Linked DNA regions of Homo sapiens: regions 1, 2, 3, 4, 6 and 7 are each linked to region 5. Evidence: promoter capture Hi-C in 16 types of primary human blood cells and fetal thymus (Javierre and others, 2016). All regions are on one chromosome and are shown on one strand. The core of a region is centred on a gene start or on the middle of the fragment in contact, and the rest is flanking DNA. Distances in the headings are between cores, read along the strand shown. Region 1 overlaps SLC20A1 (solute carrier family 20 member 1). Region 2 has its middle 15 kb from the start of IL36A. Region 3 has its middle 11 kb from the start of CHCHD5. Region 4 overlaps LOC107985934 (a long non-coding RNA gene). Region 5 holds the start of IL1B (interleukin 1 beta). Region 6 has its middle 35 kb from the start of NT5DC4. Region 7 has its middle 25 kb from the start of SLC20A1-DT.

Region 1 (2,700 bases), core at 133-2,632, 170 kb after region 5:
CTCCAAATATTACTACCATAAATGGGACAAGGGAGAGTCACAAATGGGGACTGGGGACAGCAAAAGTCACCCCTGGTGGAGAACTCCTACCCAAGACAAAGGCCCAGTAGTCCCAGAAGTGTCACCCGCACTCAGCCAAAAAATGCGAGAGGGAAATAGTAACACAAGTATATTATTTAGATATAAAGAGACAAATACCAAAAGAATTGAAAGTGGTTGCCTCAGGAAAGGGAAATGTTGGCAGACCTGTTTTTGTTAACAAGCCTTGTTGGACCAGCTGGCTCTTCAATTTGCCCAACCTTGATTTTCAAAAAACTTTTAGTTAAGAAAAGGCAATGTCAGCTGAGCCGTGGTGGCTCACGCCTGTAATCCCAGCACTTTGGGAGGCTGAGGTGGGTGGATCACCTAAGGTCAGGAGTTTGAGACCAGCCCGGCCAACGTGGTGAAACTCTGTCTCTACTAAAAATACAAAAATTAGTCGGGCGTGGTGGCGCAAGCCTGTAATCCCAGCTACTCAGGAGGTTGAGGCAGGAAAATCGCTTGAACCCTGGGAGGCAGAGATTGCAGTGAGCCGACATCGCGCCATTGCACTCCAACTGGGTGACAAGAGCGAAACTCTGTCTCAAAAAAAGAAAAGGCAATATCTATGCCGAAAAAAAAGGGGGGGGCCAGGGTTCTCACCATGTGTCCCTGCCCCATGGCAGACAACTAAAGTAGAAATATAACCGCTCCTCTGGTCCCTTCCCTAGCTCTAGAGGCTCCTCTCCCCAGGTCTACCTGCTCTGCCTACAGAAACACATCCTTGGTGTGTTCAATCTTTTCACTTCCCTGGGCCACACTGGAAAAATTGTCTGTAGCTGGACAAGCTTGGTCTAAGTATTTTCTCAGCTGTTCTGTCCTGAGCCAAGTGAAAGTGCCAGGGAGGTTCCTCTTCTCCATGTAATCACTGGGCTCTGAAAGGATCTGGGCTTTTGTGAGGTCATTCAGCACGAAGGGAAGGCAGTGCCAGAACTCTGAGGGTCTCCTCCCAGACCCTCAGTTCAAGGCCTAATGCTCGGTCGCCCTTTACAACAGCCCCCTACCCTCCCTTCCCTCAAGTAACAAGTCATAAAGCTAGTTTCACCCAGCCCCAAAGGCTACAAGTAACGGGCACCCTCTGCTAACTGACAATACTGGGCAAATACAGATGTTCTCCACGCCAGTTTCATCATGTACAAAATCAGGATAAGATCTACCACAAAAGGCCATGAGGATTAAATGTAGTCTTCTGCAAGACCATTAAACTGACAGCAGGATGCAACGGCATGTACCCAGCCAGTGGCCTAACCTTGCAGGCACAGGTTAGACTAGGCACTGCCTTACCCTGTTCGATTCTTAGTGTTGGTTTCTAGTGAAACGCTCCAAATAAACTCAAAATTCAAAAGTATTGTTCCAAACCCTCAGGACAGGAACTATCAATCTAGTTTGCCAAGAAATGTACTTTTCATTAACTTCTGATCAGGGGCAAAAATATAATGGGTCAGAACTGAAGAATCCCATACTGAGAACTTTTAAACAAAACTTAGCTACACATTGCCTCCCACTCATTTTTGCTTTCCTTGTACTGATGTCCTTTGAACACTAGTCTGAACTGCAGAATCCACTTATACACAGACTTACTTTCACCTCTGCCATCCCTGAGACAGCAAGACCAACTCCTCCTTTCCTCCTCAGTCAACTCAAGATGACAAGGATGAAAACCTTTATGATCCATTTCCACTTAATGAATAGTAAATGTATCTTCCTTATGGTTTTATTTCCTTTTCTCTAGCTTACATTATCGTAGTACAGTATATAATACATACATATAACACGTAAAATATGTGTTCACAACTGTTTATGTTATTGCTAAAGCTTCTGGTCAACCGTAGGCTACTGGTAGTCAAGTTTTTGGAGTCAAAAGTTATACATGGTTTTTTGACTGCATGGGGGTTGGTGTCCAACCTCCACACTGTTCAAGGGTTTACCGTAATACCAAAGCTAAAAACAATCTACATAAAATAGTAAAATAAAGCTGTCCATTCAACAGTAAATCTTTGGCTGTGAAAAACCATGAGTAGGCCAGACGCAGTGGCTCATGGCTATAATCCCAGCACTTTGGGAGGCCAACACAGGCGGATCACTTGAGGTCAGGAGTTTGAGACCAGCCTGGCCAACATGCTGAAAGCTTGTCTCTACTAAAAATTAGCCAGATGTGGTGGTGGGCGCCTGTAGTCCCAGCTACTCAGGAGGCTGAGGCAGGAGAATTGCTTGAACCCAGGAGGTGGAGGTTGCAGTGAGCCGAGATCACACCACTGCACTCCAGCCTGGTGACACAGCGAGACTCCGTCTCAAAAAAAAAAACAAAAAGTATCAAAAGAAAAAACTGGAAAAACAAAACAAAAAAAACACCCGTGTGCTAACATGAAAGTGTACAGGCTGTGCTACTAAAAGGGAAAATGCCAAGTTGCCACCACAGTCCCTATGGAGTAATGTCTTGCATATTCTGGGCACACAAGAAGCATACAGGGAGGGGTTGGGAGCTTTAAGTTGGACAGTAGCTCTCACTTGTTAAGATATTCACATCACCTAAGAATGATATTAGGCTAACTGATCAGGAGCCCAGGTGATTCGAGTATGAAAGAAAACCATGAGAACAAATTTTCTAAAAACTGTAGGCTT
Region 2 (2,700 bases), core at 31-2,530, 180 kb before region 5:
TAGTAATAGTCTAGGCCTCCTACTGTAGGCACCGAGTAGCCACCCTGGGTATCCACTCTTTCATCCACTGATTTGCTCAGAACAACACCTAGCTATTGTATCAGAAAATTTTCAAGCATACAGAACATAACGGGGACCACAGCATTTGAGAAACACAGCCTCTGCTAAAGCTACTTTCTTCACATGCTGTTTACACTTTTCACTTTTAAAAACGTTAATTTTTCAGTTATTAATACATCGACACATTCATCTTGAAATAAAGTTAAAATATACCAGATAAATCCAAATTCTTTCCCCCCAGATCCTAGTTCCTCTTTCTCCACCCCAATGGTAACCACTGTTATGAATTGGTGTCACTCTGGCTATTTCTTATGCATTTACGTACTCATAGGCTCTATTGGAAGCATACAATGTTGTCTTATGTGTACCCCTGTGCATCTGTATGTATGTGTCCATGTGAGTGCATGTTTCTCTAACTGGAATAATAAAATACATATTTTTCTCCAACTCACTTTTCTTTTTTTTTCGAGACAGAGTCTCACTCTGTCACCCAGGCTGGAGCGCAGTGGTGCAATCTCAGCTTACTTCAACCTCCGCCTCCCAGGTTCAAGCGATTCTCCTGCCTCAGCCTCCCAAGTAGCTGGGATTACAGGCGTAGGGCGCCACCATGCCCAGCTAATTTTTATATTTCTACTAGAGACAGGGTTTCACCATGTTGGCCGGGCTGGTCTTGAACTCCTGACCTCAAGTGATCCACCTGCCTCAGCTTCCCAAAGTGCTGGGATTACAGGTGTGAGCTACTATGCCCAGCCCAACTCATTTTTTCACTGAAAAATGTGTTCAAATATCTGTCTACACTGGCATGGATGGCTGTCTCATTCCTTTACAACTGCTGCAGAGCACCCAACAGAATGGTTTTACCATCCTTTGTTTAGCCATTCCTTCATGGATGGAGAGTTAGGCTGTTTCCACATTTTGCTACTTTTTTTTTTTTTTTTTACAAACAATGTGGCAATGAACATTCTAGTGTATGCCTTCTGTGCAGACATGCAAGACTTTCTTTGGAATAGATAAGTGATCTTAGACAAGATAGCTGAAAAAAATAGATAAATGAATTGCTTGACCATGGAGTAAGTCCATTCTTTATTTCAATAGATAATATCTGCCCTTGGATGTGGCTTTTCTAATTTACACTTCCAATGGTGTTTTCATTCTTCCCTGCCCTACATTTTTACTTTTTAAAAATTTAAAAAGTATTGTTGTCCTAGCATATAAAGCAGGGGTTTCCAACCCCTAGGCCATGGTCCGAAATTTTTTTAAAATTTACACTTCCAATGGTGTTTTCATTCTTCCCTGCCCTACATTTTTACTTTTTAAAAATTTAAAAAGTTTTATTATTCTAGCACATAAAGCAGGGGTTTCCAACCCCTAGGCCATGGTCCATGGACCGTTACCAGTCCTTACCTGTTAGGAACCGGGCTGCACAGCAGAAGGTGAGTGGCAGGCGAGCGAGCAGTACTGCCTGAGTTCTGCCTCCTTTCGGATCAGTGGGAGGTATTAGATGCTCATAGGTGCGTGAACCCTATTGTGAAGTGCGTGTGCAAGGGATTTATGTGTGCGCTCCTTATGAGAATCTAATGCATGATGATCTTCTAAGAACACCCACATCCCCAGTCCATGGAAAAAATGTCCTCCATGAAACCAGTCCCTGGCGCCACAAAACTTAGGGACCACTGATATAATCTCTCACTGTTATTTTCATTTGCACATGCCTGATTACTGATTAGTCCTTCAGTACTCTGCACTCTCCAGTCTGACCTCTGACATCTGACTTCTCCACCAAAACCTTTCTTCTGAGCACCATCAATGACACCCCTGCCTGTTTCCTGATGCCAATGGGCACTCTGCTGTCCTAATCTCAATCAGCGCTAGGCACACTCCACTGCTCCCACACATCTTTACATGCACATACTAGGGATTCTGCAACAAGTCTCTCTGGGCTTTCCTCAGACTCACTGAAATTTTCTTTTTACTTTCATTTACTGGCTCCCCCTCATGTGACTTCTTGTAGTTGAAATTCCTCAGAACTCATCCTTGAATCCTCTTCTCCTTTATACTATTTCACTGGGTGACACTATTTGTTTCATGAACGGGTGTATGTGGACGTATTAGTTGGTTCTCATGCTGCTAATAAAGACATACCCAAGGCTGGGTAATTTATAAAGGAAAGAGGTTTAATGGACTCACAGTTCAGCATGGCTGGGGAGGCCTCACAATCATGGCAGAAGGCAAAGGAAGAGCAAAGGCACACCTTACATGGCAACAGGCAAGAGAGCTTGTGCAGGGGAACTCCCATTTATAAAACCATCGGCTCTCGTGAGACTTATTCATACTGTAAGAACACATGGGGGAAATTGTCCCCATGATTCAATTATCTCCACCAGGTCCTGCCCTTGACATTTGGGTATTATTACAATTCAAGGTGAGATTTGGATGGAAACACAGCCAAGCCGTATCAGTTGACAATTTTATCCCTGGCCCAGAAGTCTCCTCTAAACTCCAGATATGCATTTGTAGCTACCAATGTAGACTGTCTCTGAACTTGGAAATTGAATATGTCCTAAGTAGAACGCTTGATCCTTCCACAACCTGCACATTCCAACACTCAGTTATCTCCGTCTCAGTTACAACAGAAACCTA
Region 3 (2,700 bases), core at 16-2,515, 240 kb after region 5:
AGACAAGTAGAATGAAAACATGGTCTGGCTGACACTTCCACTTCTGGCATCTCTCCAAACTGAGGTGGCCTTGATACCTAAGAAAGCCCCATGCTGATGGCAGCCCAAGGGGAGCAAGGTCAGGGAAGGCCTCTCCCTGTTAGGAAGGACATTCACATAATTTTCTTCCTGTGCACAGTGTGAGTCTCAAAAAAAAAAAAAAGACTCTCACTCTGTCGCCCACGCTGGAGTGCAGTGGCGTCGTGATCCCGGCTCACTGCAACCTCTGCCTCCTGGGCTCAAGCAATCCTGCTACCTCAGCCTCCCGCATAGCCGGGATTACAGGCACCTGCCACCATGCCCAGCTAATTTTTGTTTTTTTAGTACAGACGGGGTTTCACCATGTTGGCCAAGCTGGTCTTGAACTCCTGACCTTAAACAATCAGCCTACCTTGGCCTCCCAAAGTGCTGGGATTGCAGACGTAAGCCACCATGCCCAGCCTGAATTGATAAATTCTTGAGAGATGGGAAACGGCATTCTTTAATGAGAATTTTGGATATAGGGGACACTAATAGAAACTAACAAAGTGCTTTCATAAAATTCCCAGATGCTCAAAGAAAATTTAAAAGTCGAGTTAAGATCCATAAAATATGCATGCCCAGGCTGGGCGCGGTGGCTCACGCCTGTAATCCCAACATTTTGGGAGGCTGAGGCAGGTGGATCACGAGGTCAGGAGATTGAGACCATCCTGGCCAACATGGTGAAACCCCATCTGTACTAAAAATACAAAAATTAGCTGGGCGTGGTGGCGCGTGCCTGTGGTCCTAGCTACTCAGGAGGCTGAGGCAGGAGAATCGCTTGAACTCGGGAGGTGGAGGTTGCAGTGAGCTGAGATTGCGCCACTGCACTCCAGCCTGGGCAACAGAATGAGACTCCACCTCAAAAAAAAAAAAAAGTGCACGCCCACAACTGAGTAAAAGACAGGACTGTGATCAGGAAGTGCAGAAAATGTTAAATTTTAATGTCAGGGGTTAATTTAGAAAACATTGGCAAGTGTTTTCTCCTTTTATCATACCTTCCCCCTTTCTCATCTTTGCTGCAGATAAGGTCAAGTTCAGGGACTGCAGGACTTAAGGGGTAGGAGGTAATTCCTTCAAAACAAAAATGAAGGCAGGGTGTGGTGGCTCACGCCTGGAATCCCAGCACTTTGGGAGGCAGACGAGGGCAGATCACTTGAGGTTAGGAGTTCTAGACCAGCCTGGCCAACATATTGAAACCCCATCTCTACTAAAAATACAAAAAAATTAGCTGGGTGTGGCGGTGCATGTCTATAATCCCAGCTACTCAGGAGGTTGAGGCAGGAGTAATGCTTGAACCCGGGAGACGGTCCTCGCAGTGAGCCAAGACCATGCCATTGCACTCCAGCCTGGGCCATAGAGTGATTCTGTCTCAGAAAAAAAAAAAAAAAAAGATGAAAAGAAAACCCTTCTTTTCTCCTGCTTTGCATCTGCAATGGTGCAGGAATCCACAGATGTAACTAGACGTAACTGATGAATTGCAAGAAGTTAGAAGCCTGAAGAATGCAGCCGACATGAAAGGCTTTTATTCATACAGGTGATGTGATCTAAATGACTGACTGCATATTTAGAAAATAGGAAGAGTGTGAGGGACGGCAGCAAGGGTGAAGAATCGCCCCTCACCAGACAAGACTACAACAAAATTAACTGAGTCCTCATTTCAGCTTTAAAATAAACAAAAGGGGCTGGGCATGGTGGTTCACTCCTGTAATCCCAGCACTTTGGGAGGCCAAGGCAGGCAGATTTCTTGAGCTCAGGAGTTAGAGAACAGCCTGGACAATATGGTGAAACCCCATCTCTACTAAAAAGACAAAAATTAGCTGGGCATGCGTGCCTGTAGTCTCATCTACTCAGGAGGCTGAGGTGGGAGGATCATCTGAGCCCAGGAGGTGGAGGTGGCAGTGAGCCGAGATCACATCACTGCACTCCAGCCTGGTCAACAGAGTGAGACCCCATCTCATAAATAAATAAACAAACAAATAAATAAAATGAACAAAAGGGGAACTGTATACCCAAACTATAAAACAAAAATTAAAAAAAAATGAAAAGGGGAATTGTAAATCCAGGCTTAAGATGGAGTGAGGCCTTCTAAGAAAAAGAACAGCAACAACAATAACAATACCAAACCTTCTGCAGGGGCAGAGTGCAAAGAAATGGTGGTGAGAATGACAAGCTGGGGAAAATAATGCCTGCTGCAATTCCGGACACATTGGGACTTAGTGCTCCCTTTGAGACATCTATATGAAGGTCCATGGCAGCAGGTGGAAGCCCAAGGCAGAAGCCAGGGCTGGAGATAACCATCTGTGAACCAATGACTTATCTGATATTCTCTAGGAAGGAGATCACTGCACAGAGGAGAGAATAAGAAGAGGCCTGGTGTAAGCCTTGAAGAAAATCATTATGTCACGGCTGGGTGGGAGAAGGTGGTGGCATAGCCAGAGAGCTAGGAGGAAACCTGCAGAGTCCATGTAAAGATGAAAGAAGAGTAGAAATGTGGAGGGCCATTAAAAAATTATTCTGACAGTTGTTAAAACAGTATAGAAAATTGTACTCAAGACGACTGTCCCTGTCTCACTTCCCACTGCCCTAGTAATGCTTACTGGGATCAACCTCTAATTCTCTGTCCCAGGGTCTGTTTCTGGG
Region 4 (2,700 bases), core at 167-2,666, 200 kb after region 5:
TCAGATTACAGGCGTGAGCCACCCTGCCCAACCCAAGTTGGTTGGGTTTTTTGTTTTGTTTTGTTTTGTTTTTTTGTCACAAGGCCTCACTCTGTTGCCCAGGTTGGAGTACAGTGGTGCAATCTCAGCTCGCTGGAGCCTTGACCTCCCAGGTTCAGGTGATCCTCCTTCCTCTGCCTCCCCAGTACCTGGTACTACAGTTGCATCCCACCACGAATGGCTAATTTTTGTATTTTTTGTAGAGACTGGGTTTCACCATGTTGCCCAGGCTGGTCTCGAACTCCAGGGCTCAAGCAATCCACCCACCTAGGCCTCCCAAAGTGCTGAGATTACAGCCATAACCCACTGCACCCGGCCTAATTTTGTATACACCACCTTTACCATCTTTTAGGATGAAGTGCTTCTGTGGCTGGTCTCATCCATTTAGCATAGATTCTTGCCAGTTTTATTTTCCAAAAGTGATTTTCTTCCTGGGGGCAACTTACTGTTGCCCCAAAATATATCCATTTTAGGACTGTTCATTTATTCAACCATTCAGCACCTACCACCTGCAGGGAATATGAAATTTTTAACTGTGACCTTGAATACTGCCTCTACCTTTTATTTTGTTTTTTCACTCCTCCCTCTCCACCCATTTACCTCTCCCTTTTTAATGATGGTTATAAAATCAAATGTTAACGCTGATTTATAAAAACCATATATGTGTATATATATATATATATACACACACACACACACACACACACACACATATATATAGATATATATAGGACTCACTCTCCTGTTTCCAGATACCTTCAAAGGCATTGTTTCATTTTATCTTCACATCTGTGTGATGTAGGCAGAGCAAGTATTTTTTTTACCCTATCACAGGGAAATGAGGGTCTGAGAGCCTGCAGTCGGGCAAGTAGCAAGTTTTAGAGTAGGGCCTGGAGTCCTGCACGGTGGGCCCTGGCAGGCAATGCGTGAGAGACTCCAAGTCTACTATACTTCCCACCACCCTGTGTTAACTCCCCATTTAAGCCAGAGGAGTGACTTACAGGTATGGGGATAGGGATGGGACATTCAGGCCAGAGAAGGGAGAGAAAGGGACAAGGGAGAGAGTACTTCATGCAGTGACTTCAATTGCAAATACCCTATTCCATTGTCCCCACTAGAATTCATATTTATCAGACTTGTATTCTGATTATTTCATAATATATGGGCACCGAAACAACCAGACTAATAGGGGAAATAGTTTAGGGCAAGAGGAGCTCAAGATTTTTAAAAATTATTATAAAAATAATACATGCTCGCTGGGTGCAGTGGCTCATGCCTGTAATCCCAGCACTTTGGGAGGCCGAGGCGAGTGGATCACCTGAGGTCAGTAGTTCAAGACCAGTCTGGCCAACATGGAGAAACCCCGTCTCTACTAAAAATACGAAAAATTAGCCAGACATAGTGGAGCATGCCTGTAATCTCAGCTACTCAGGGAGTCTGAGGCAGGAGAATTGCTTGAACTCGGGAGGCAGAGGTTGCATTGAGCCAAGACCACACCATTGCACTCTAGCCTGGGTAACGAGAGCGAAACTCGGTATCAAAAAAAAAAAAAAATTAGCCGAGCATGCCTGTAATCCCAACTACCCAGGAAGCTGAGGCATGAAAATCTCTTGAACCTGGGAAATGGAAGTTGCAGTGAGCTGAGATCACATCATTGCACTCCAGCCTGGGAGACAAAATGAGACTCCTCTGTCTAAAAAAAAAAAAAAAAAAAAAAAAGCTCATGTAAAAACTATACCATAGAGAAGAATATCAAGTGAAAAATGCTCCTCCTTAGAATCTCAACTTTCTAGTCTAACCCCCCGACATAACTACTTTTAATCATTACTTGTAATACACACACACACACACACACACACACACACATAGGTATTTTCACTATAATATATAGTGTATACCTTTTTTCTTTTAATCAGATGAAATCATACCATGGGGTTTCGCAACTTGTTCTTGATACCTTTGCACGTCACTGCATATAGATCTTCTTGCACGCCTTCTTTTATTATCTGCAGTGGAATAGACCATTATAAAGCACGTCCTTATGCAAGTGGACTCTCTGGGTCATGGGCTATGCAAATATTTTCATTTTATATGATATTGCCAAATGTCCACCCAGCACATAAGAGAAAATGCCAATTTCAAGGCTGGGGATGTTTTTTGATCCCCTTCTGATTACATATGGCTGGTGGTGTCATGGCCCATCCATATCTCCTTTGCCAACATTAATCCCGGCTTTGGCATCTCTTTAACTCTCAGTAGAATGAAATCTTTGGACGCTGATCCTCAGCAGTGAGGCATTTTCTTTGCCTTCTCTTTCCAACTCTGTAGTGGTCATTGATTAACAAGCCTGTCTCTCCCTTTCACTGGCCCTTTCCATTTAGACCCTGGCCTCTTTCCTCACTCCATCCTCCTCCCAACCTGCACTTTCTGGAACAGCCCCACAGGGCCCAGCTGGTGGGTGCCTCCTTCCCCAGGGGTGTGGGGTGTATGGTTGGTTTTGTGGCAAGGTCATCCTCATGGTCACCACCTTGCTTGTTGATGTTCCCTGCCATTGGCATGGTGGTTGTTATGGGATCAGCATGGGTAACCAAACCCTGAAGAGACACAGCTTTGCTGCTAGGAATTTTAAATCTGTAGTTCCTTACTGTCTCGCCAAAGGCT
Region 5 (2,700 bases), core at 143-2,642:
GCAAACTCTACCACCTGAATGTACATGCCAGGCACTGTGCTAGACTTGGCTCAAAAAGATTTCAGTTTCCTGGAGGAACCAGGAGGAGCAAGGTTTCAACTCAGTGCTATAAGAAGTGTTACAGGCTGGACACGGTGGCTCACGCCTGTAATCCCAACACTTTGGGAGGCCGAGGCGGGCAGATCACAAGGTCAGGAGATCGAGACCATCCTGGCTAACATGGTGAAACCCTGTCTCTACTAAAAATACAAAAAATTAGCCGGGCGTGGCGGCAGGTGCCTGTAGTCCCAGCTGCTGGGGAGGCTGAGGCAGGAGAATGGTGTGAACCCGGGAGGCGGAACTTGCAGGGGGCCGAGATCGTGCCACTGCACTCCAGCCTGGGCGACAGAGTGAGACTCTGTCTCAAAAAAAAAAAAAAAGTGTTATGATGCAGACCTGTCAAAGAGGCAAAGGAGGGTGTTCCTACACTCCAGGCACTGTTCATAACCTGGACTCTCATTCATTCTACAAATGGAGGGCTCCCCTGGGCAGTACCCTGGAGCAGGCACTTTGCTGGTGTCTCGGTTAAAGAGAAACTGATAACTCTTGGTTGGTATTACCAAGAGATAGAGTCTCAGATGGATATTCTTACAGAAACAATATTCCACTTTTCAGAGTTCACCAAAAAATCATTTTAGGCAGAGCTCATCTGGCATTGATCTGGTTCATCCATGAGATTGGCTAGGGTAACAGCACCTGGTCTTGCAGGGTTGTGTGAGCTTATCTCCAGGGTTGCCCCAACTCCGTCAGGAGCCTGAACCCTGCATACCGTATGTTCTCTGCCCCAGCCAAGAAAGGTCAATTTTCTCCTCAGAGGCTCCTGCAATTGACAGAGAGCTCCTGAGGCAGAGAACAGCACCCAAGGTAGAGACCCACACCCTCAATACAGACAGGGAGGGCTATTGGCCCTTCATTGTACCCATTTATCCATCTGTAAGTGGGAAGATTCCTAAACTTAAGTACAAAGAAGTGAATGAAGAAAAGTATGTGCATGTATAAATCTGTGTGTCTTCCACTTTGTCCCACATATACTAAATTTAAACATTCTTCTAACGTGGGAAAATCCAGTATTTTAATGTGGACATCAACTGCACAACGATTGTCAGGAAAACAATGCATATTTGCATGGTGATACATTTGCAAAATGTGTCATAGTTTGCTACTCCTTGCCCTTCCATGAACCAGAGAATTATCTCAGTTTATTAGTCCCCTCCCCTAAGAAGCTTCCACCAATACTCTTTTCCCCTTTCCTTTAACTTGATTGTGAAATCAGGTATTCAACAGAGAAATTTCTCAGCCTCCTACTTCTGCTTTTGAAAGCCATAAAAACAGCGAGGGAGAAACTGGCAGATACCAAACCTCTTCGAGGCACAAGGCACAACAGGCTGCTCTGGGATTCTCTTCAGCCAATCTTCATTGCTCAAGTATGACTTTAATCTTCCTTACAACTAGGTGCTAAGGGAGTCTCTCTGTCTCTCTGCCTCTTTGTGTGTATGCATATTCTCTCTCTCTCTCTCTTTCTTTCTCTGTCTCTCCCTCTCCTTCCCTCTCTGCCTCCCTCTCTCAGCTTTTTGCAAAAATGCCAGGTGTAATATAATGCTTATGACTCGGGAAATATTCTGGGAATGGATACTGCTTATCTAACAGCTGACACCCTAAAGGTTAGTGTCAAAGCCTCTGCTCCAGCTCTCCTAGCCAATACATTGCTAGTTGGGGTTTGGTTTAGCAAATGCTTTTCTCTAGACCCAAAGGACTTCTCTTTCACACATTCATTCATTTACTCAGAGATCATTTCTTTGCATGACTGCCATGCACTGGATGCTGAGAGAAATCACACATGAACGTAGCCGTCATGGGGAAGTCACTCATTTTCTCCTTTTTACACAGGTGTCTGAAGCAGCCATGGCAGAAGTACCTGAGCTCGCCAGTGAAATGATGGCTTATTACAGGTCAGTGGAGACGCTGAGACCAGTAACATGAGCAGGTCTCCTCTTTCAAGAGTAGAGTGTTATCTGTGCTTGGAGACCAGATTTTTCCCCTAAATTGCCTCTTTCAGTGGCAAACAGGGTGCCAAGTAAATCTGATTTAAAGACTACTTTCCCATTACAAGTCCCTCCAGCCTTGGGACCTGGAGGCTATCCAGATGTGTTGTTGCAAGGGCTTCCTGCAGAGGCAAATGGGGAGAAAAGACTCCAAGCCCACAATACAAGGAATCCCTTTGCAAAGTGTGGCTTGGAGGGAGAGGGAGAGCTCAGATTTTAGCTGACTCTGCTGGGCTAGAGGTTAGGCCTCAAGATCCAACAGGGAGCACCCAGGGTGCCCACCTGCCAGGCCTAGAATCTGCCTTCTGGACTGTTCTGCGCATATCACTGTGAAACTTGCCAGGTGTTTCAGGCAGCTTTGAGAGGCAGGCTGTTTGCAGTTTCTTATGAACAGTCAAGTCTTGTACACAGGGAAGGAAAAATAAACCTGTTTAGAAGACATAATTGAGACATGTCCCTGTTTTTATTACAGTGGCAATGAGGATGACTTGTTCTTTGAAGCTGATGGCCCTAAACAGATGAAGGTAAGACTATGGGTTTAACTCCCAACCCAAGGAAGGGCTCTAACACAGGGAAAGCTCAAAGAAGGGAGTTCTGGGCCACTTTGATGCCATGGTAT
Region 6 (2,700 bases), core at 115-2,614, 150 kb after region 5:
TGCAGACAAACACCACGAGTTAAACGTATAGAAAGCTGGCAGGTAGGCGAGGCATGGTGGTTCACACCTGTAATCCCAGCAATTTGGGAGGCAAAGGTGGGAGGACTGCTTGAGCTCAGGAGTTTGAGACCAGCCTGGGCAACATAGTAAGACCCCATCTCTAAAAAACAATAAATAAATAAAAATTAGTAGGGCATGCTGGTGTGCGCCTGTAGTCCCAACTACTTGGAAGCTGAGGTAGGTGGACTTGAGCCCAGCCTTGGCAACAGAGCGAGACCCTGTCTTACAAAACAAAAAGAAAAAGTGCTGGCAGATGGCTCCTCAGGAAGGTCTCAGGAGATCTGCTGCCTGAGCAGCTTGTTGGGGAGCCCTGCCTACACGAAGCTCATAGCCAAAGTCATTCTGACGCTGAGAGATAACTTGGCCTTGTCTCCTCCCGCCTTCACGGCCCCCTCCCTGCTTGGTAAGCCCCGCTCCACTGCAGTCACGGTAGTCCTTACGCTGGAGCTGAAGTTGGTTCTGCCTCTCCAATTGCCTGTGAGCTGCAAGGAGGCCAGGACTGTGCTTCAGGCTGTGGAAGGAAGTCAGAGAATGGGAGGAGCCGCCTGTGGGGAGCAGGAAGGCTTGGGCCCTGGGTTCCTGCTCAGCCAAGGAACACCTGTAGGTTTCTGAACCTCTTTTTCCATCTGTAAAAGGGGGAAATAAGCCCTGCCTACCTCATCAGGCTTACAGCTGCACTGTCCATTATGGTAAGCACTAACCACTGTGGCTAATGAGCCCGGGAAGTGTGGCTAGTCCCAATTCACATGTGCTCTAAGTGGAAAATATGCACCAGATTTCAAGGCCGGTACCAAAAACTGTTATCAAGTCCCTCAGTAATTTTTATGTTGCTTATGTGTTGAAATAACATTTTTGATATATTAGGTTAAAGCACATATTATTAAAATTAATTCTCGCCAGACACAGTGGCTCACGCCTGTAATCCTAACACTTTGGGAGGCCAAGGCAGATGGATCACCTGAGGTCAGGAGTTCAAGACCAGCCTGACCAACATGGTGAAACCCCATCTCTACTAAAAATGCAAAATTAACTGGGCATGGTGGTGCATGCCTGTAATCCCAGCTACTCGGGAGGCTGAGGCAGGAGAATCGCTTGAACCCAGGAGGCGGAGGTTGCGGTGAGCCAAGATGGCACCATTACACTCCAGGCTGGGCAACAAGAGCGAAACTCGGTCTCAAATAATAATAATAATTAATTTCATCTGTTTTGTTTGTTTGTTTGTTTGTTTTTGAGACAGGGTCTCACTCTGTCGCACAGGCTGGAGCGCAATGACATGATCATAGCTCACTGCAAACTCCAACTCCTGGACTCAAGCAATCCTCCCATCTCAGCCTCCTGAGTAGCTAGGACTAAAGGCATGTCACTGTACCCAGCTAATTTTTCTGTGGAGATGGGGTCTCTCTATGTTGCCCAGTCTGGCTCAAACTCCTGGGCTCAAGCAATCCTCCCACCTCAGCCTCCAAAAGTGCTAGGATTACAGGCATGAGCCACCTTACCCAGCTTGCCTGTTTCTTTTTAAAATGTGGCTTCTAGAGAAATTACAGTTACATATGGGCTCATATTATGTTCCTACTGGACAGTACTGGTACAGCAATGAGCTACTTGGATGGATGGAGTTATTAGAACTCTATTTCTTCTGTTCTCTTCTCCTTGAATCTTGCAGAATGTGGCACAGGCAGAAGGAGGCTTGAAAAATCCCTGTCCAAAATAAAAGTCTTAGGTTTTTCATCTGAAAGAGTCAGATACTCCAGCTACCTCCACTTCCCACCCCTCAATGCAGATAAACAAACAGGCGTGAGCCACCGGGCTATTTATGATTTTGACAACTGCTCTCCAAAATGTTGTAACTTTCCACCCCTCCAGCAATACATGAGAGTACCCATTTCTTCAACCCTTCCTAATACAATTGGGGTTCTATCATTTTCTTCATCTTTGCCAGTTTAATAGGTAAAACTTCCCCTTCTGTGCTTACTGCAGAAAACTGAAACTTGTTCCTGGGTTACTGACCATATGTCTTAGTTTTTAATAACTTTCCTCATCCTACCTTTTCTTTGCCCATTTTTTCTTCTGAAGTCTATTGTCTTCTCATTTCTATGAGCTCTTTGCATATTAAGGACATTAATTCCTTGTCTCACATGCTGCAGCTCTTATTAGTCTTTTATATTGTCTGCGTAGTGTTTTTTTATGATTATTGAGTTAAACCTCTGAGTACTTCCTTTACGTTTGTGCTTTGTGTGGTTAGAAAAATCTTTACACCATAAGGATGAACTTATCTGTGTTTTCTTCTAAATTTATTATGGATCTTATTAATGATTCCACTTATTAAAATTTAGGTTTTACCTGACTTGAAATTATTTAAGTTGTGGTATGATTCAGAATCTAACTTCGTTTTCCTCTCCCAAATGGCTAGCCAGTTGTTCCCACTATCTCATGTATCCCAAGACTTCACCACAGTGACACTGTGGGACGTTTTGGGCTGGGTAATTCTTTGCTGTGGGAGGCTATTCTTGCACTGTAGGATGTTTAGCAGCGCCTCTGACCTCTATCAGATTCCAGTTGCATCCCCTCAGTTGTGACAACCAAAAATGTCTCCAGACATTGCTAAGTGCTCCCAGGGAGACAAAACCACCCACAGTTGAG
Region 7 (2,700 bases), core at 5-2,504, 220 kb after region 5:
CCCAGAGGAACATTTTGTGCCAGCACCTCCAGCTTCATGGAGGCATTGATACACCAAGTCCCTGAGGATGCCTGAAGCTGGTTCACAGATGGAGCCCGCTAAGTTACAGGCTGGCGGATTGTTCTTGGCCCTTGCAGCTGTGCAGCCACAGGGGAAAACAAAAGCTGTTTAAAATTTTGCACACAAAAAAAAGGTACTACCCAGTGGACAGAGTTGGGGACAGTGGTGGTTTTCCTGAAAAACCCCTCCAAAATGCTCCTTGCTGCTTTTTCATTGATTTAGAGACGGTAGCCAATGGGCTGGCAGTGCGGGCCTGTGCCTGGAAGCAAGACTAAATGATCAAGTCTCAATCCCTATGGCAGTGAACATTATGGTATCAGACTTTTTTTTTTTTTTCTGAGATGGAGTCTCCCTCTGTTGCCCAGGCTGGAGTGCAGTGGTACGATCTCAGCTCACTGCAGCCTCCATTTCCCAGGTTCAAGTGATTCTGTTGCCTCAGCCTCCCAAGTAACTGGGATTATAGGCTTGCACCACCGTGCCTGGCTAATTTTTTTTTTTTTTTGTATTTTTAGTAGAGACGGGGTTTTGCCATGTTGACCAGGCTGGTCTTGAACTCCTGACCTCAGGTGATCCACCATGCCTGGCTATTTTTTTTTTTTTTTATTAGAGATGAGATTTTTGCCATGTTGACCAGGCTGGTTTCGAACTCCTGACCTCAAGTGATCCACCGCCTCAGCCTCCCATGCTGGGATTACAGGCATGAGCCACCGCACCCAGCCTCAGATTTTATTAATACTACACCACTGCCCTCTGTTTTATGGATGTGGATGTCCATAGAAATAGCATGAGTGGAATTCAAAACCCAATCAGACTTGTGCCTTCCAGGTAAGGACAACTGAATACATCATCACAGAGGCCACGACATTCTGTCTACAGTGCAGGACTGGGACCCAAAGCAAAGATGAATGACTCCAGCACAGGAAGCCACCGAAGTCTGGTAAATGAGCCTGTCAGTCAAGGGGCAAAGAAAACTCCAGGGCACATATAAACTCAGGACACCAGATTCTGGCCAGTCCTGGCAAATAGGCTACATAACCTCCTAAATGCTCCACTTGGGGATGCAATTAAGCATTTCCTACAGTAGGCACCTTTCTGGGTATGGCATGGCAATGTAGGTCCTTACCACAGATAGGAGGTAGATGTAACATAAATTTAGGGACTCGCAGATGACCTGTGTTACATACTGAGATTCCCTGAATGTATCTCATCAAATGATGCGCATTTATAGTCAAGAGTACCCAACACTGGCCAACCACCTTGGACATTGCCAGGACATCTCAGGACCCTCATCACCCACAGGCAATAGATGCCATAAAAGGATGGAATGAGGCTGGGCGCCATGGCCCACACCTGTATCCCCAATACTTTGGGAGGCTGAGGCAGGTGGATCGCTTGAGACCAGCCTGGGCAACATGGTGAAACTCTGTCTCTACATAAAATACAAAAAATTATCCGGGTGTGGTGGTACACCCCTGTGGTCTCAGCTACTGGGAAGGCTGAGGTGAGAGGATCACCTGGGCCCAGGAGGTTGAGGCTGCAGGGTAAGCCGTGATTGAACCACTGCATTCCAGCCTGGGCGACAGAATGGGACCCGGTGTCAAAAAAAAAAAAAAAAAAAAAAAAGAGAGAGAGAGAGATGGATGCTTAAAGGAGAAGCTAAAAAGGGTACATAGAGAACCAAAGCTCAATTCTCAGTAGAGTACACACTTAAAACAGACAATATGGATTCTAAATGTGCCAATACCCCAAAAGGGAACTTCCTTTTTAAATAGAATCTGTGTGAGTTTGAGGAGTCGGGGAGGAGGCCCAGACTGTCTGTAAGAGACCCAAACCAACACAATATACTCTCCTTCTTCATTCCTCCTTTCCCTCCCACGCTCACCCCTGGGGAAACCAAACTATGCTGCTTTTTTCTTTTTTTTTTTTTTTTGAGACGGAATCTCACTCTGTCGCCAGGCTGGAGTGCAGTGGCGCAATCTCAGCTCACTGCAACCTCCGCCTCCTGGGTTCAAGCAATTCTCCTGCCTCAGCCTCCTGAGTAGCTGAGACTACAGGCGCCCACCACCACGCCCGGCTAATTTTTGTATTTTTAGTAGAGACGGGGTTTCACCATATCGGCCGGGCTGGTCACAAACTCCTGACCTCAGGTGATCCACCCACCTTGGCCTCCCAAAGTGCTGGTATTACAGGTGTGAGCCACAGCGCCCAGCATTTTTTTTTTTTTTTTTTTGACACGGGGTCTTGCTCTGTCGCCCAGGCTGGAGTGCAGTGGCACAATCTTGGCTCACTGCAACCTCCGCCTTCCTGGTTCTAGAGATTCTCCTGCCTCAGCCTCCGAGTAGCTGGGACTGTAGCTGGGACTATAGGCGTTTGCCACCATACCCGGCTAAATTTTAGGTATTTTTGGTAGAGACGGGGTTTCTCCATGTTAGCCAGGATGGTCTTGATCTCCTGACCTCGTGATCCACCTGCCTCGGCCTCCCAAAATGCTGGGAATACAGGTATAAGCCACCATGCCCAGCCTAACCTGATGCTGCTTTTACTGTCCAGTTATGCTTCCTGGATCTGGGCAATTATAGATACTGATGATATTGATCATGAGTATGAAGTGACGACTCCCAAAGTGGTCCCGGCATGGCA

The links. The method cuts DNA at HindIII sites, captures the fragments that hold promoters and counts their contacts. A CHiCAGO score of 5 or more calls a contact.
Region 1: a fragment that was not itself captured here is called in contact with the fragment with the promoter of IL1B in region 5 in 1 of 17 cell types (monocytes); the score reaches 6.0 in monocytes.
Region 2: a contact is called between a fragment that was not itself captured here and the fragment with the promoter of IL1B in region 5, in 1 of 17 cell types (M2 macrophages). The highest score is 5.9, in M2 macrophages.
Region 3: a fragment that was not itself captured here is called in contact with the fragment with the promoter of IL1B in region 5 in 7 of 17 cell types (M2 macrophages, monocytes, megakaryocytes and 4 more); the score reaches 12.8 in M2 macrophages.
Region 4: a contact is called between a fragment that was not itself captured here and the fragment with the promoter of IL1B in region 5, in 2 of 17 cell types (monocytes and M2 macrophages). The highest score is 5.5, in monocytes.
Region 6: a fragment that was not itself captured here is called in contact with the fragment with the promoter of IL1B in region 5 in 1 of 17 cell types (monocytes); the score reaches 6.3 in monocytes.
Region 7: a contact is called between a fragment that was not itself captured here and the fragment with the promoter of IL1B in region 5, in 2 of 17 cell types (monocytes and M1 macrophages). The highest score is 6.9, in monocytes.

Annotation. Positions count from the first base shown.
Region 1 is chr2:112,663,805-112,666,504 of GRCh38, reverse strand. It overlaps SLC20A1 (solute carrier family 20 member 1), which reads right to left. Exons shown (of 11, transcript NM_005415.5): 11 at 2,680-2,700. Among named protein-coding and RNA genes, the nearest start is that of SLC20A1, 19 kb to the right of the region's middle. The HindIII fragment of the contact is 1,027 bases long and covers 869-1,895 here.
Region 2 is chr2:113,019,169-113,021,868 of GRCh38, reverse strand. No RefSeq gene overlaps it. Among named protein-coding and RNA genes, the nearest start is that of IL36A, 15 kb to the right of the region's middle. The HindIII fragment of the contact is 5,467 bases long and covers 1-2,700 here.
Region 3 is chr2:112,593,956-112,596,655 of GRCh38, reverse strand. No RefSeq gene overlaps it. Among named protein-coding and RNA genes, the nearest start is that of CHCHD5, 11 kb to the right of the region's middle. The HindIII fragment of the contact is 7,050 bases long and covers 1-2,700 here.
Region 4 is chr2:112,636,808-112,639,507 of GRCh38, reverse strand. LOC107985934 (a long non-coding RNA gene) reads right to left here. Exons shown (of 2, transcript XR_001739642.2): 1 at 1,938-2,700; 2 at 1-548. Among named protein-coding and RNA genes, the nearest start is that of SLC20A1-DT, 6.0 kb to the left of the region's middle. The HindIII fragment of the contact is 4,837 bases long and covers 1-2,700 here.
Region 5 is chr2:112,835,471-112,838,170 of GRCh38, reverse strand. IL1B (interleukin 1 beta) reads left to right here and starts at 1,392. Exons shown (of 7, transcript NM_000576.3): 1 at 1,392-1,463; 2 at 1,927-1,988; 3 at 2,554-2,605. The coding sequence starts at 1,942. The HindIII fragment of the contact is 1,771 bases long and covers 1,265-2,700 here.
Region 6 is chr2:112,684,456-112,687,155 of GRCh38, reverse strand. No RefSeq gene overlaps it. Among named protein-coding and RNA genes, the nearest start is that of NT5DC4, 35 kb to the left of the region's middle. The HindIII fragment of the contact is 6,630 bases long and covers 1-2,700 here.
Region 7 is chr2:112,617,760-112,620,459 of GRCh38, reverse strand. No RefSeq gene overlaps it. Among named protein-coding and RNA genes, the nearest start is that of SLC20A1-DT, 25 kb to the left of the region's middle. The HindIII fragment of the contact is 9,749 bases long and covers 1-2,700 here.